Linked DNA regions of Homo sapiens: all the other regions are linked to region 4. Evidence: promoter capture Hi-C in human tissues and cell types (Jung and others, 2019). All regions are on one chromosome and are shown on one strand. Each heading gives the region's core, a stretch centred on a gene start or on the middle of the fragment in contact. The rest is flanking DNA. Distances are from core to core; before and after follow the strand shown.

The links. Contacts are between HindIII fragments. The study calls those that stand out against the background at their distance.
Region 1: a contact is called between a fragment that was not itself captured here and the fragment with the promoter of TXN2 in region 4, in 1 of the 25 tissues and cell types used here (mesendoderm cells).
Region 2: a contact is called between the fragment with the promoter of RBFOX2 here and the fragment with the promoter of TXN2 in region 4, in 1 of the 25 tissues and cell types used here (bladder).
Region 3: a contact is called between a fragment that was not itself captured here and the fragment with the promoter of TXN2 in region 4, in 1 of the 25 tissues and cell types used here (mesenchymal stem cells).

What each region holds. Positions count from the first base shown.
Region 1 is chr22:36,136,777-36,140,245 of GRCh38, forward strand. No RefSeq gene overlaps it. Among named protein-coding and RNA genes, the nearest start is that of APOL3, 22 kb to the right of the region's middle. The HindIII fragment of the contact is 4,055 bases long and covers 1-3,469 here.
Region 2 is chr22:36,027,448-36,030,521 of GRCh38, forward strand. RBFOX2 (RNA binding fox-1 homolog 2) reads right to left here and starts at 1,377. Exons shown (of 14, transcript NM_001349999.2): 1 at 793-1,377. The coding sequence starts at 978. RefSeq lists a silencer at 1,543-1,612. The HindIII fragment of the contact is 7,839 bases long and covers 1-3,074 here.
Region 3 is chr22:36,218,749-36,222,212 of GRCh38, forward strand. No RefSeq gene overlaps it. Among named protein-coding and RNA genes, the nearest start is that of APOL4, 19 kb to the left of the region's middle. RefSeq lists an enhancer at 3,340-3,464. The HindIII fragment of the contact is 3,793 bases long and covers 319-3,464 here.
Region 4 is chr22:36,479,819-36,482,996 of GRCh38, forward strand. It overlaps TXN2 (thioredoxin 2), which reads right to left and starts at 1,822. Exons shown (of 4, transcript NM_012473.4): 1 at 1,746-1,822; 2 at 757-1,019. The coding sequence starts at 1,019. RefSeq lists an enhancer at 2,252-3,178. The HindIII fragment of the contact is 22,621 bases long and covers 1-3,178 here.

The DNA of each region.
Region 1 (3,469 bases), core at 583-3,082, 340 kb before region 4:
ACCCCACTCATCAAGGCTGACCACTTGGCACCCAGTGAATCTCAACCCCGGAAATGACAGCCTTAGGTCCCATGGAAATGGCCCAAAGGGGACTCAGCTCCATATCAGAGGCTGGGAGCTGCCCTTAGGATGTGATATGTTTTGAATCCATACCCAGAATTTTCCCCATTTCCTGTAATAGCCAGAATTCATGGAGCTGGGCAGTCAGAGGTTAAGATGAGGGTGATAGCTCTATGGTTACCCACAATAAACCACTTTCAAAAATTTTGTTTATGATACATACTCCTAACTCACAGACTTTTAGGTCTGGAAGTTTCAGTATCTAAGGTTGACAAAAGTTGTTTCAGCAGAAACCATAGCTGGCTTCTCATGCTCCCTGATGTAGGGATAGCAATGACGTCACTGGGTTGGATATAATCATGCATCATGTTCCTCCAGGGAAGCTCATGTTGTTATTACACAGCAGGACAGGAGGAATTGAGGGATCCCCTAGGATTGCTCCTTGTAATACTCTAAAGTGTTAGAGTATTAGTGTAAATGTGAATAGGAAATTTCACCAACTTACTGAGGCCAGACCATCAAGGAGCTTAGACACCACGAGAATGACTTTGCCCATAAGTAAGAGGAACATTGAGTGGAACAATTCAAGACTTCTGATGGTGGCAGCAATGGTCAGTAGTGGCTGTAGCCTTGACCGTACCTCTTTATTTTCTACAAATATACACACACAAAAATTCTGAGACAGAAGCTGCCAATGGACCAAAAGAAAAATTGATCGTGTGCTGAGGCCCTCCTCCTGTGACATAACTTCAGCATGCAGAAGGTGGAGATGCTGTGTGTGGCTCTCACTGGGGAAGAGGCAAGTGCATTTGCCTTTTTCCTTGGGATGGCTGGGTTCATAGCAGATAAGGAGAGTTCTTTTTGTTTGTATGAGAAGAAGAGTGTGTGTGCAGTAGCAAGCGATTGACTGTATACAATGAGCACAAATTCAGGTGGCTGTTTGGCCAGAGGCTTCCCATTAGGGTTTGTGTCTCTGTTACCCATCCCCATTCCTGATACCATAGCCTCACTGATTAGTTCAAGAAGAGTCACTAACCCAAGCTATTCTGTCTACTGAGTATGTGAAACTTTAATCAGAGACACTAGGAATCAAAGTGTGTGGAGCTAAGCCAGGTGCAGGCAGAGCCCTGAAAGGGCAAACCATATATTCCTGATGTTGGTAATGGTCTGCTCCTGTCCTTCCAAATTCTGTAGATTTTGTTCTTCCTTCCATCCTCTGACCTGCTCTAGTTTTCATCCAATGAATCTTCTATTTTGTTTAAGACAGATAGTTTCTGTTTCTGTTGCTTGCAATTGAAAAATTTTTAAACAATACTAGCAGTACAGTGGAATTGCATCAAATGCAGGTAGCCTGATGGCATTTCAACTCTAAGTGTCAGGGCAAATGCTGGCTGGATCACTGAAGAAGTAAATTACTCAGTGCCAGAAACATTCAAAGCTTAAGTGAAATGTATGAAAAGAATGGGAATTATCCAGGAATTGATGAACAATTGACAGACAAATGAAACACAATGTTCTGGCGTTAGGCAAGTCGGTGGCCGTTGCTCTGTTGACTTCTTCAGGAAGAAATAGATGAATCAACTGAAGGTCAGGGAAGCCTTGGCTGATGGAGAGTTACAGGGACTGAGGCAAGTGTTCTGCAGGATGCTACATAAAAAAGGACTAAGTAGGCCCTGGGTGCACTTTACGAGTGACTTAGGAGAGGTTCTGGGGTGATTTTGTGCATTCTGTATCTCTTGCCCCTGCTCTGGGCTCCAGCTGAGGCGCCCAGCAGTTCTATATTCTATGCATGGAAATACAGATAATTAATGTCCACTGGGGCAAGGCCATGGGGGACAGGAGCAGTGGTTACAGGCCTCCCTCTCTCCTCCCTGTAGAGGAACATTCTGAAGACGCTCCTTGAAGACTCCTCAGGAGGTCTCCAGTCGCCCACATGGGTGACCCTATCAAGAATTTCTCCCGGCATCAGCCTTCTGTCCTTCTCTGTGTCACTCCTCCCAGTACCCCAGTCCTGCTCCTAGAATCACTTCCCAAACAAATCCTCTGCCTGGGAGCCTTGCCTAGGGCTCTCCCTTCAGGGGAACTCAGGCCACAGCAGCCTACATTAGACAGCATGAAGGCTCTGGGCTTTTGTGCTAAGAGTAATAGGAAGCCATTGAAGACATGGAAGCATGGGCTTGAAGAAATCTATGTTCTTACGGGGCAAATTGGCCCAGTGTGGAGGATGGGCAGGGATAGTGGCAAGGGCTGTATAACAGGGAAGACCATTCTGGAAGCTTTTGCAGGAGTCTGGGTGAAATGAGAGGGCTGACTGGATGAGGGTGTTTGCAGACTGGATGAGGGTGTTTGCAGACTGGATGAGGGTGTTTGCTGTCTGGCTATCTCTCTCTGTTCCTCTATTTCTCATGGACTTTCTCTCAACCTACACACAGGCCCCTCTGATTTTAGTCAGCCTTGTGTGACCCATGTCATTCGTGGGCCCTGGCTGCTAGATGGGGACCATGCCTGCACTTGGGCCAAGCCAGATGTCTACAAGCTTTCCCTGAGTGCCTCACAGGCCACTGGGCACTGGGGTCGCCCAGAAATGACCGACCAGAAGAACAAGCAGAAGGGGCCATGGAGGCCTAGCTCCCTGAGTCCCTGGAAGAAGGATCATGAGGAAGTGAAGTCAGGCACCGAGAGCCCAGGGGAGCCCATCCATCAGCACCACAAAGGCACAGGCATAGATCAGTGTTGCTTGAACCCAGATCTCCAGAACACAAGAGGAGAGAGCCAGGTGGACCTGAGATATCATCTTGTCCAGCCCCTCTTTCCCAGCTGATGAGGAAACTGAGGCTCAGAGAGGCGGGGTCTCTTGACTGCAGGCTGGTTCATCTCCTCAATGCACCACAAAGTTCCTTGATTGGTTCCTGGCATCTGGTTTTGCTTTTCTCTTCCTTGTTTTTTTTTGGGGGGGGGACGCGGGGGATGGAGTCTCGCTCTGTCTCCCAGACTGGAGTGCATTGGCGCCATCTCGGCTCACTGCAACCTCCTCCTCTTGAGTTCAAGCAATCCGCCTGCCTCAGCCTCCTTAGTAGCTAAGATTACAGGCACCCACCACCATGCCCAGCTAATTTTTGTATTTTTAGTAGAGAAGGGGTTTCACTGTGTTGTCCTGGCTGGTCTCCAACTACTGACCTCAGGTGATCCACCCGCCTCGGCCTCCCAAAGTGCCAGGATTACAGGCCTGAGCCACCGTGCCCAGCCTCCTTTTATTTTTCTTCACAAATCAATGACTTTTCCAATACAGAATTTGGAGTTTCATTGGAATGTCATCGTTCCCTCAGTGTATCCTGGCCCCAAGCAGGGCTGACATTTGTCAAGTCCTCCTGCTGTCTGCTGACATCATCACCATCACCTTTACCACTGT
Region 2 (3,074 bases), core at 127-2,626, 450 kb before region 4:
TACCCAAATTAACCACGTTTATCTTTCAATCCAGAATTGAGAATCCAGTCTTCTAATAGCCCTATAAAAAAATTTTTTTTATAGCCCGGGACATTAAAGAGCTATTTTGTGTCCTGGTGATGTAGAATGCAATTGGCAAAGAACAGGAGGGACATGTCTAGTGTCTCCCTTCAGACTCATTAGTATGCTCCACAAAGTAAATGAGACTGAGCACCACCGTGTCCCCATAACATTACCAAACTCCTTGTACTTCTCACACTCTGTGTGATTTAACCCACAATCTCAGCCACATCCCCTCGGGGCTCTCTCGAGGAGTTTTCTTTTCACTCCTCTCATTGAAATGCCACTTCTCTTCCCCATCCCAGCGTGTGCCCAGGGCTGCCAAAAGGTACTCCCTCTTCTCGGGAGGTTTCCCACCAGATCTCCTTTTCCTCGACTCAGTCCAGAGAAGCCAGGATTTCCCGGCTTCCACTCCACCCCAAGGCACTAAGGAAGGATTTGAAAAAATGGAATCCATCTCAACCTTGTTCGATTTCCCCCCAAAACCTATCCACTCGTCGTGCCTCCTGGCCCCTCAGGAATCAGGACCCTCTCGGGCACACCAGGTTCAGTCCTGCAACCTTCGTTCCTAGCCCGAGCTCGCCCCACCTTCCAACCAGGCCCCGAATGGCCCCCCATCCCACCTCCAACCCAGGACTCCCGGAGGCCCTCCCTCTCTCCAAGCCGGGGAGCCCGGTGTCGACCCTCACGCCCACCCCCGCAATAACTGGGCGCCCCGTCCCGCGCGGTCACCTGCATCCCGCCGCCACCGTCGGCCGCCGCCTCCTCAGTGCGCGGCCGCTTGCTCAGGCCGGGATCGGCTCCGTCTCCTCCCGCTCCGGGCACCGGCAGCTCCAGCTCCGACTCCCGCTTCATGCCCCGGGCGGCGGCGCCGGGCCCGAGCTGAGGCGGCTGATGCGGCTGGGCGCCCTCCGCCATCCGCCCGCGCCCCCCTCGCCTCCGGGAGCCGGGCGACCCGCGACAGGCCACCTCCCCCTGGGCCTCGGCCCCGACTGTCGCGACAGGCGGGCGCGCGCCTGCCCCCGCCCCCGCGTGCGTGCGTGCGTGCGCGCGAGCGGACTCCGCGCCCCTCCGCGCCTCGCGGCCGCCGCTCCTTGCCTGACCGCTTGCTCCCCGCCCGCCCGCCCGCCGGGTTGTCGGCGCGGGGCCACTGGCGGGTCGTGATGAGCACTCGCTCGCGCCCCCGCACGCACACGCGAAACCCGGCCCGGCCCGCCGCGCCGCCCCGCCTCTCGCACTCCCGGAGCTCGCCCACCGGCCGCGCTGGCTCACACTCTCCCTCACAGCACGCCGGCCGAGGGAGGAAGGGGGCGGTCCGGGCTCCCGAGGCGTGGGGAGGGCTGTTTATTTTGGGGGGAGGAGGGGCGCGAGGCAGGAACGAGCTGACTGGCCGGGATCCTCCGACCCGCCACTGTGGCAGCACCGGGAAGGCGGGGAGAGAGAAAGAGGGAGGGAGGGAGGGACCGGGATGTAGAACTCCAGCCCGCGCGGGAGGCTACGGCGAGGGGGGCGGTGGCGGCCCGCGGGGGGGGCGGGGCCAGGCCCCCTCGGCAATCTCCGTAGTCTCCTCGCTGGCTGCCCGAGGGAGGCCGGGAAGCGATCGGGGAAGCTCGGGAATCTCCGGCACGGGCCTGGGATTGTCCTGGAGGCACAGCGCGGCTGGAGTGCGGGGCAGCGCGGGGGGGGCGGGGTCTGTCTCCTTTCTGGGCGGGGCCGTATCCTGGAGCAGGCGGGGCTTGAGAGACCCGAAGGCCAGGGAGTGGCTCCTGCTTGCGGTACTAGTTGTACAGAGTTAAGTCCTGAGTTTACTCGCCTGAGCACCTTGGTTCCCGGAGAGGGAATGGGCACTCTGTGAGAGGCAGGCTATTTGCCTGCTTCCCCTCCCGCAGAAGAAAAAATGTCTCAAATTGGAAGGTCGAGGAATGAAGCCACCCCTCTATGGTTCACCCCAGTTCTGAGAGCTTTTACTCTAATATAACTCACATTCCTAATGAAGTTAGTAATAATACCCGATGTTTGTAAGAGCTTTAGAGTTTGCACAATGCATCCACAGACCCGTTTCAAACTGGTGATATAAGTAGATACCATGATCTCCATTTCATTGATGATGAAACTGAACCTTAGTTAAATCCTGCAGCAAAAAAGTGGCAGATCCGGAATTCAGAACACGAGAACATATTCTCTTTCTTCGTACCTTGCTGCCTGAGGAGCACTTTATGACTTACCAACTTCGTGGAGATAGAGATATCTGTGCAATAGATTCTCTCCCCTACCAGACTGTGAGGACAAGGACTGCAGTGACTTCCTCTGAGTTCCATATCGTGCCCTGTACGTTATAGAAATAAAAGGATATTGCGTGAATAACCTGGATTCTAATCTTGGCTTTGCTAACTAGCTTAAACAAGTTACTTCATCTCTTTGGACCTCAGCTCCATCATTTGTAAAATGAGATGGTTTGGATCAGTGGCTTTCAACCAAGGAGAAATTTTGCCATTCCACCACCTCCACTCCCACATTTGTCAGTGACTGAAGGCATTTTTTTTTTTTTTTTTTTTTTTTTTTTTGAGACAGAGTCTCGCTCTGTCGCCCAGGCTTAAGTGCAGTGGCGCGATCTCGGCTGACTGCAACCTCTGCCTCCTGGGTTCAAGCGATTCTCCTGCCTCAGCCTCCCCAGTAGCTGGGACTACAGGTGTGCGCCACCAACTAATTTTTGTATTTTTAGTAGAGATGGGGTTTCACCATGTTGGCCAGGCTGGTCTCGAACTCCTGACTTCAGGTGATCCGCCTGCCTCGGCCTCCCAAAGTGCTGAGATTACAGGAGTTAGCTGCCGCGCCTGGCCGACTGAAGGCATTTTTGATTGTTACAGTGGGGAGGTGCTGCTGGCATCTAGTGTGTAGAAGCCAGGAATGTTGCTTGACATCCTATCATGCACAGGACGGTCCCCCCAGGAGAGTTATCCAACCCCAAATGTCAATAGTGCGGAGGTTGAGAAACGCTGGGTTAGATGATTTCC
Region 3 (3,464 bases), core at 965-3,464, 260 kb before region 4:
GGCATGAAATAGTATCTCATTGTGGTTTTGATTTGCATTTCTCTAATGGTCAGTGATGTTGAGCTTTTTTTCATGTTTGTTGGCCGTATGAATGTCTTATTTTGAGAACTGTCTGTTCATGTCCTTTGCCCATTTTATAATGGAGTTGTTTGGTTTTTTTTTCTTGCTAATTTGCTTATGTTCCTTGTAGACTCTGAATATTAGACCTTTGTCATATGGAGAGATTGCAAAAGTGATTGCTTTCCAAGGGAATCCAGCCACTTCCCCTTTACTCGTTTTGGTTAATAAAAACACTTTCTTTCTAGCAGACCTCGCTCTTGTTAATTGGATGATCCAGGTGGGGAGCATCCAGACCTGCGTTCGCTTCCAGTTGTTTTTCTTCCCTTGGTTTAAGCAAAATGATACAATATTTAGGCCAAATGTTTTAGTTCTACTTTGAGATGTAAAATCTCTATCTGATGTCACCTAAGATTTGTTCCTTTAGAGTGCGAACTTTGGGCCATCTGGCTGACAATTGCTGAGGCAATAAAACAGGTTATCAAGAAATTGGTGGGCTGGGCGTGGTGGCTCACACCTGTAATCCCAGCACTTTGGGAGGCAGAGGTGGGCAGATCACAAGGTCAGGAGATCGAGACCACCCTGGCTAACACGGTGAAATGCCGTCTCTACTAAAAATACAAAAAATTAGCCGGGCGTAGTGACAGGTGCCTGTAGTCCCAGCTACTCAGAGGGTGAGGCAGGAGAATGGTGTGAACCCAGGAGGCGGAGCCTGCAGTGAGCCAAGATGGCACCACTGCACTCCAGCCTGGGCGACAGAGTGAGACTCTGTCTCAAAAAAAAAGAAAGAAGGAAAGAAAGAAAGAGATAAAGAAAGAAAGAGAGAGAGAGAGAGAAAGAAAGAGAGAGAGAGAGAGAAAGAAAGAAAGAAAGAAAGAAAGAAAGAAAGAAAGAAAGAAAGAAAGAAAGAAAGAAAAAAAAAGAAAGAAAGAAATTAGTAATCTAAAGTGGGGGAGAAAAATTTGGAAAAGTGACAAATAAAAAATCTTACAAATCTACAGGATCTGGGTCTGTACGCATCTCTGTGTGTCTATGTATTTATATGTGTTATAGGTATATAATATTTCCCCATCAAAATATATAGAAGGGTCTAATTAATTGGCTTGCCAAAAAAAGCACTTAAATCCAATATTTTATCAGAAAAATAGAAACTTTCATTTGAATAGCATTCACTTCATGTGACTTTAATAATCTTTGCTAGAGACAGTTTAAAAATTATTGGTAAAATAGAAATGTCTTCAAAACTTAATTTAGATATCTGGGCTGAATTAGTCAAGCAGGTCAGATACTATTGTCTGCTAGATGTATTAGGATAAAAAAGTTTGCTTCTGTAATACTTTTAAAGCTTGCTTATCTCATCTGTAAACCTATGTGTCTTGAGAATCAAGCCTTTGGACTAACCCCAGGCATTGCCCTTCATCCTGGGATACGCATCTGGTGCATAATTAAAACTGTTTACCTCCTAGATTCTTCAATAAAAATAAGAGTTACCAAGAGTTCACATTACAATTAATGTATGTAATTAAAACATTACATCTATTGCTGCCTAGACCACCTTCTGGCTATACACAAAGTGTATTGTGATGGTTAATATGAGGTGTGAACATCACTAGACGGAGGAATGCCTAGATGGCTGGTAAAGGATTGTTTCTGGGCGTGTCTGTGAGGGTGTTGTCAAAGGAGATTGACATTTGGGTCCGTGAACTAAGAGAAGAAGACACACCCTGAATGTGGGCAGTACCATCCCATCAGCTGCCAGTGAGGCCAGAACAAAGCAAGCAGAAGAGAAAAGGGTGAGCAGCTTGCTCATCACTCTCTCTGTCTTCCCGTGCTGGATGCTTCCTTCCTCTCCTCCTGCCCTTGGACATCAGACTTCCTGGTCTTTGGCCTTTGGACTCTGGGACTTGCACCAGCGGCCTCCTGGAGGATTACAGGGCTTCATCCTAAGACCGAGACCTACGCAGTCGGCTTCTCTGGTTTTGAGGCTTTTAGACTTGGACTGAGTCACACTACGGGCTTCTGTCTTTCCCCAGCTTGCCAAGAGCCTGTTGTGGGATTTCTGCTCGTAATCATGTGAGCCAGTTCTCCCTAATAAACTCACTTCTATGTGTATTTCTGTGTGTACATGTATTCTATTGACCATGTCACTCTGGAGAACTCTGACTAATGAATGTATTAAAGAGATAGGATGTGTTTTGATAAAAGGGTTGAAAGAGGGCATGGGACTGTGGTTCTTTTTAAGAAAACATCATTTTGTTTAGTTTAGAGGTTTTAAGGATCATTTCAAGTTAAAAGAAAGATATGGCAAAAAAGAAATTTTAAGCAAATTGTAGTAGGTTTGTGGAAGATTGATCTCATAAAAGAAACCATGTGTGATGAAGTTTGGCTAAAATTTAAAAGAAATCATTTAGTTTTTCTATAAATTGAACATGAACATAAATAGCACATGGATGCTGGGCCAGCCTCTGAACCTCTGTGTCAGAGTAATAGGGAATACTCGGTATATTGATCTGCTCTTTAACAGAAAAATCTTAAAAGCTATAAAAGATTTATGGAAATTTTACCTCATGATCAAACTAATTAAAATTTGATAGATTTGTTTATAGGATTGTATAAAATGAGCTTCAGCATTACTAATCCATTAATACAAAGGTAACATTTAGTTTTTCTCTTTTGAACAAGATTTTTGTGTAATATCAAAACATGATGGAAGAGTTTTGTTTGCCTGTTGAGCAAACTATAAAAGAGAAAGAAATGAGAGAGAGAAACAGATTCAGTTGGCCTCATGTTGTCTATATGATGTCTTATTCTTTGGGAAACTGAGTCTTCTGTCCATCACAGAGAAAAGGTTTCTGCTTTTTTGAAATCTTTAATTCTGTGTCCTTTCTCTCTGGATCATTCCAATACATACCTCTACTCTTCAGTTGGTCAGAGGATGTTTAAGTCTAATTTGTTTTTGTTCTTGCATTTGCTTTTGTCTTGGTTTTGCTTTGCTGTGTGCTGCTTGCATCCAAAGGATCTTGACTGATTTAAAAAAAAATGATACCAACCAGTTGGTTGCAGATAACAGACCCTCAGGATGGTTGGTATTTGTGGAATTAGCGTTCAGGCTGAGAGGGAGGGGGAACAACAGTGAAACTCCCCACGCCGACCAGCATAGCACCTGCTGCCACCTGGTGGAACGTGGCTGAGACAAGGAACGCTGGGACCTGAAGCAGGACCTACACTTCAAACAAACATCTGGCTTTGAAATGTTTCCTGAAGGCATCAAATAAATTGTGGCTGTCGATGTTGTTGGCTGACTCTCCTCCTATGAGAATAAAATTCAGAGACTGATTCTGTAGGTTTCTGGTTGCATGATAAATTTCATCCTAGCCAGATCTTCTAAGTGCAGCTGAGGGCCCTGA
Region 4 (3,178 bases), core at 572-3,071:
CACTGAAAGGAAACTCCTTCCTATGCCCTGTATGCTTGGGCACCACGGTAGTGACACCGATAACTTTTTTTTTTTTTTTTTGAGATGGAATTTCACTCTTTTTGCCCAGGCTGGAGTGTAATGGCGCGATCTTCAGCTCACTACAAACACTACCTCTTAGGTTCAAGTGATTCTCCTGCCTCAGCCTCCCGAGTAGCTGGGATTACAGGCACACACCACCACGCCTAGCTAATTTTGTATTTTTAATAGAGACAGGGTATCACCATGTTGGCCAGGCTGGTCTTGAACTCCTGACCTCAGGTGATCTGCCCGCCTTGGCCTCCCAAAGTGCTGGGATTACAGGCATGAGCCACCGCACCCGGCCGACACTGATAACTTTTTGCCAGCCCTTCTTGCGGTTTTCATGGCAGGATGTTAACATCAGCTTATCTGCAGGGCCAGGAACTGGTATACACCAAAAGCAAGGTGACAGTCATATTTTTCCAACTCTGGTCCATGCTAAAGATGACGCTGAGCTTTCTGGGGATTGAGAAACAGAACATGTGTTTCCCAGCACTAACAGTCAGCTTTGCAGACTGTTCACTTGTCTGTCTTCCACCAGACTGCATTCCCCTTGAGGGCAGGGACTGGGCCTGACCAGTCTGTATATTGAGTCTACATATGAGCAGCATAGAACATGGCCGTGGGACACAGCAGGCATTCAATAAATACTTGAACAAGTAGGACCCTAGTCTTCTGTGGACCCCCAATACTCACTGTGCGTGGAAATCCACAACCACTGGTGTCTCACTGTTGACCACTCGGTCTTGAAAGTCAGGTCCATCCTGGATATTAAAGGTTGTCAAGGAGATCCTCGTGGTGTATATTGTCCGGGCTGGGTTGGGTGTTACAGTCAGGCCACCAGGACTGCATTGTGGGGTCTGCAGGGCTCTGGAAGTGAGGGGTGGCCACTGACCCTGAGAGGGCTTCCTGGAGATGACAGAGGCCAGGAACCTCCTCAGAAGAAGTCGCTGAGCCATCTGTGAGGGAAAGAGGCAGAAGAACTGGGGCACACAAAAGGAAGTCGACACACTAGAAAAAGATTTGGGGAGTACTCAGGGCTCAGGAAGAGGCAGAGTTGGAAGCAAAATGCAAGGAAATCATATGTAAGATTTGTAGCGTGGAAGTGAGGAAGCAATGAGAATCAAAGGGAAGGAACAGCTAGGCAAACCAGAAGGACAGGAAAACTGGCTTCACAACCAAAAAGAAATCGGGATTTAGATTATAACGGAAGAATGGGAGGAAGAAACCAACAGATTTAATAATGTATGTAAGGACCAAGTACCTTACACACATTATTGGTCTTCCTACAGCAACTTCCAGGAAGTTGCTATTGTACTGCCCACACTGCGAGTAAGGGAAGGAATACGAGGCTCAAGTAAGTTAAGTGACATGCCCAAAGTAACCCCGCTATTAAATGACAGCCAACACTGGAACCCAGGGTCGTCTGAAAAGATGAAACGCAACAATTCAAGGAGGAACTAAGAGTGTGAGAGGAACCAAAAACGAAGAGACATGTACTGGAGGGAACCAATAAAGAAGGGACATGTGTGGAGGGAACTGGGAAAAATCGGACATCACCAGGGACCCTGGCTCTCCGGCGAGCTAGATCCCCCCGCCCGCCCGGCCGCCAGCCTGCGCAGGAACGCGCTCGCGGCATGCCTCAGCCGCGACACCACCTCGAGCCACCCCCACAGGGCTCCTACCTCCCTGCAATGCGAGCGGAGGGATGCACAGCCTAGCCCTCCCTGCCTGTCAAGGGCACGCCTGTCGTCACTTCCTCGGGGGGGGACGTACATAACGTCACTTCCGGGTACAGGCAGGCGGAAGAGCGTCCCTCTCCAATTTTTTTTTTTTTTTTTTTTTTTTTTGAGCCAGAGTCTCGCTCTGTTGCCAGGCTGGGGTGCAGTGGCGCGATCTCGGCTCACTGCAACCTCCGCCTTCCGGGTTCAAGCGATTCTCCTGCCTCAGCCTCCCGACTAGAGGCGCGCGCCACCACGCCCAGCTAATTTTTTTATTTTTAGTAGAGACGGGGTTTCACCACGTTGGCCAGGACGGTCTCGATCTTTTGACCTCGTGATCCGCCCGCCTCGGCTTCTCAGAGGGTTGTGATTACGGGCGTGAGCCACAGCGCCCATCTGTCCCTCTCCAATTTGAGGGGCGTCTGGGATTTTCCGCCAATGGGAATGGCGGGCTGAGGCACAGTTGAAGGGGCGGGGCCTCAGCTACGGACCGGAAGCAATGGGCAGGCCGTCGGGGAACGGATTGGAAGAGGCGGGCGGGCCCTGGTCTGGGCGAAGGCGGGGGCGGGGCGGGGCGGAAACGGAAGGGGTGGGCGGGCCCTAGAGGAGGGACCGGAAGAGGAGGTGATGGAGCAGGGGTAGCAATGGAGGGTACTTAAGGGAGAAAAGGCAGTTGAGAAGTCCCCGTGGTTTTGGATTTTGCAAACTCTTGTTGCTTTATTTTATTTACATATATTTATTTATTAATGACAGAGTCTCGCTCTGTCTCCCAGGCTACAGTGCAGTGGCGTGATCTCCGCTCACTGCAACATCCAAATCCCGGGTTCAAGTGATTTTCCTGCCTCAGCCTCCCAGGTAGCTGGGATTACAGGCGCGCGCCACCACGCCGGGCTGATTTTTGTATTTTTAGTAGAGACGGAGTTTCGCCATGTTGGCCAGGCTGGTCTGGAACTCCTGAGCTCAAGTGATCCGCCCGCTTCAGCCTCCCAAAGTGCTGGGATTACAGGCGTGAGCCACCTTGCCTGGCCTCCTGTTTATAACTGGCGCTGTCCACTTCCTACAGATGTTGACAGGTTCTGTTTCTCCATTTAATATGTAAAGCTAAGCTCCTCAAAGGCATGATGCCCTTTATATGTAAAAGAACTCAACCGGGAGTTTAGGGGCCATCCTTTAAGTGGCCCTCGTCTGTGTCCGCCTAAAGGAAAACAAATGAAAACTGAGGCGAGCCTAATTTAAGCAGGGAGTTTTTTTGGGTCAAGTTCGAAGACTGCAACTCGGAGCAGAGATTCAAGTTGTCCTGAATATACACTCGGATTAGCAGCAGCTGAAAGAGCGTTTTTAAAAGAACAGGCAGTTTCCAAATTGTTGATCAAAGTTTTTTTTTTTTTTTTTTTTTT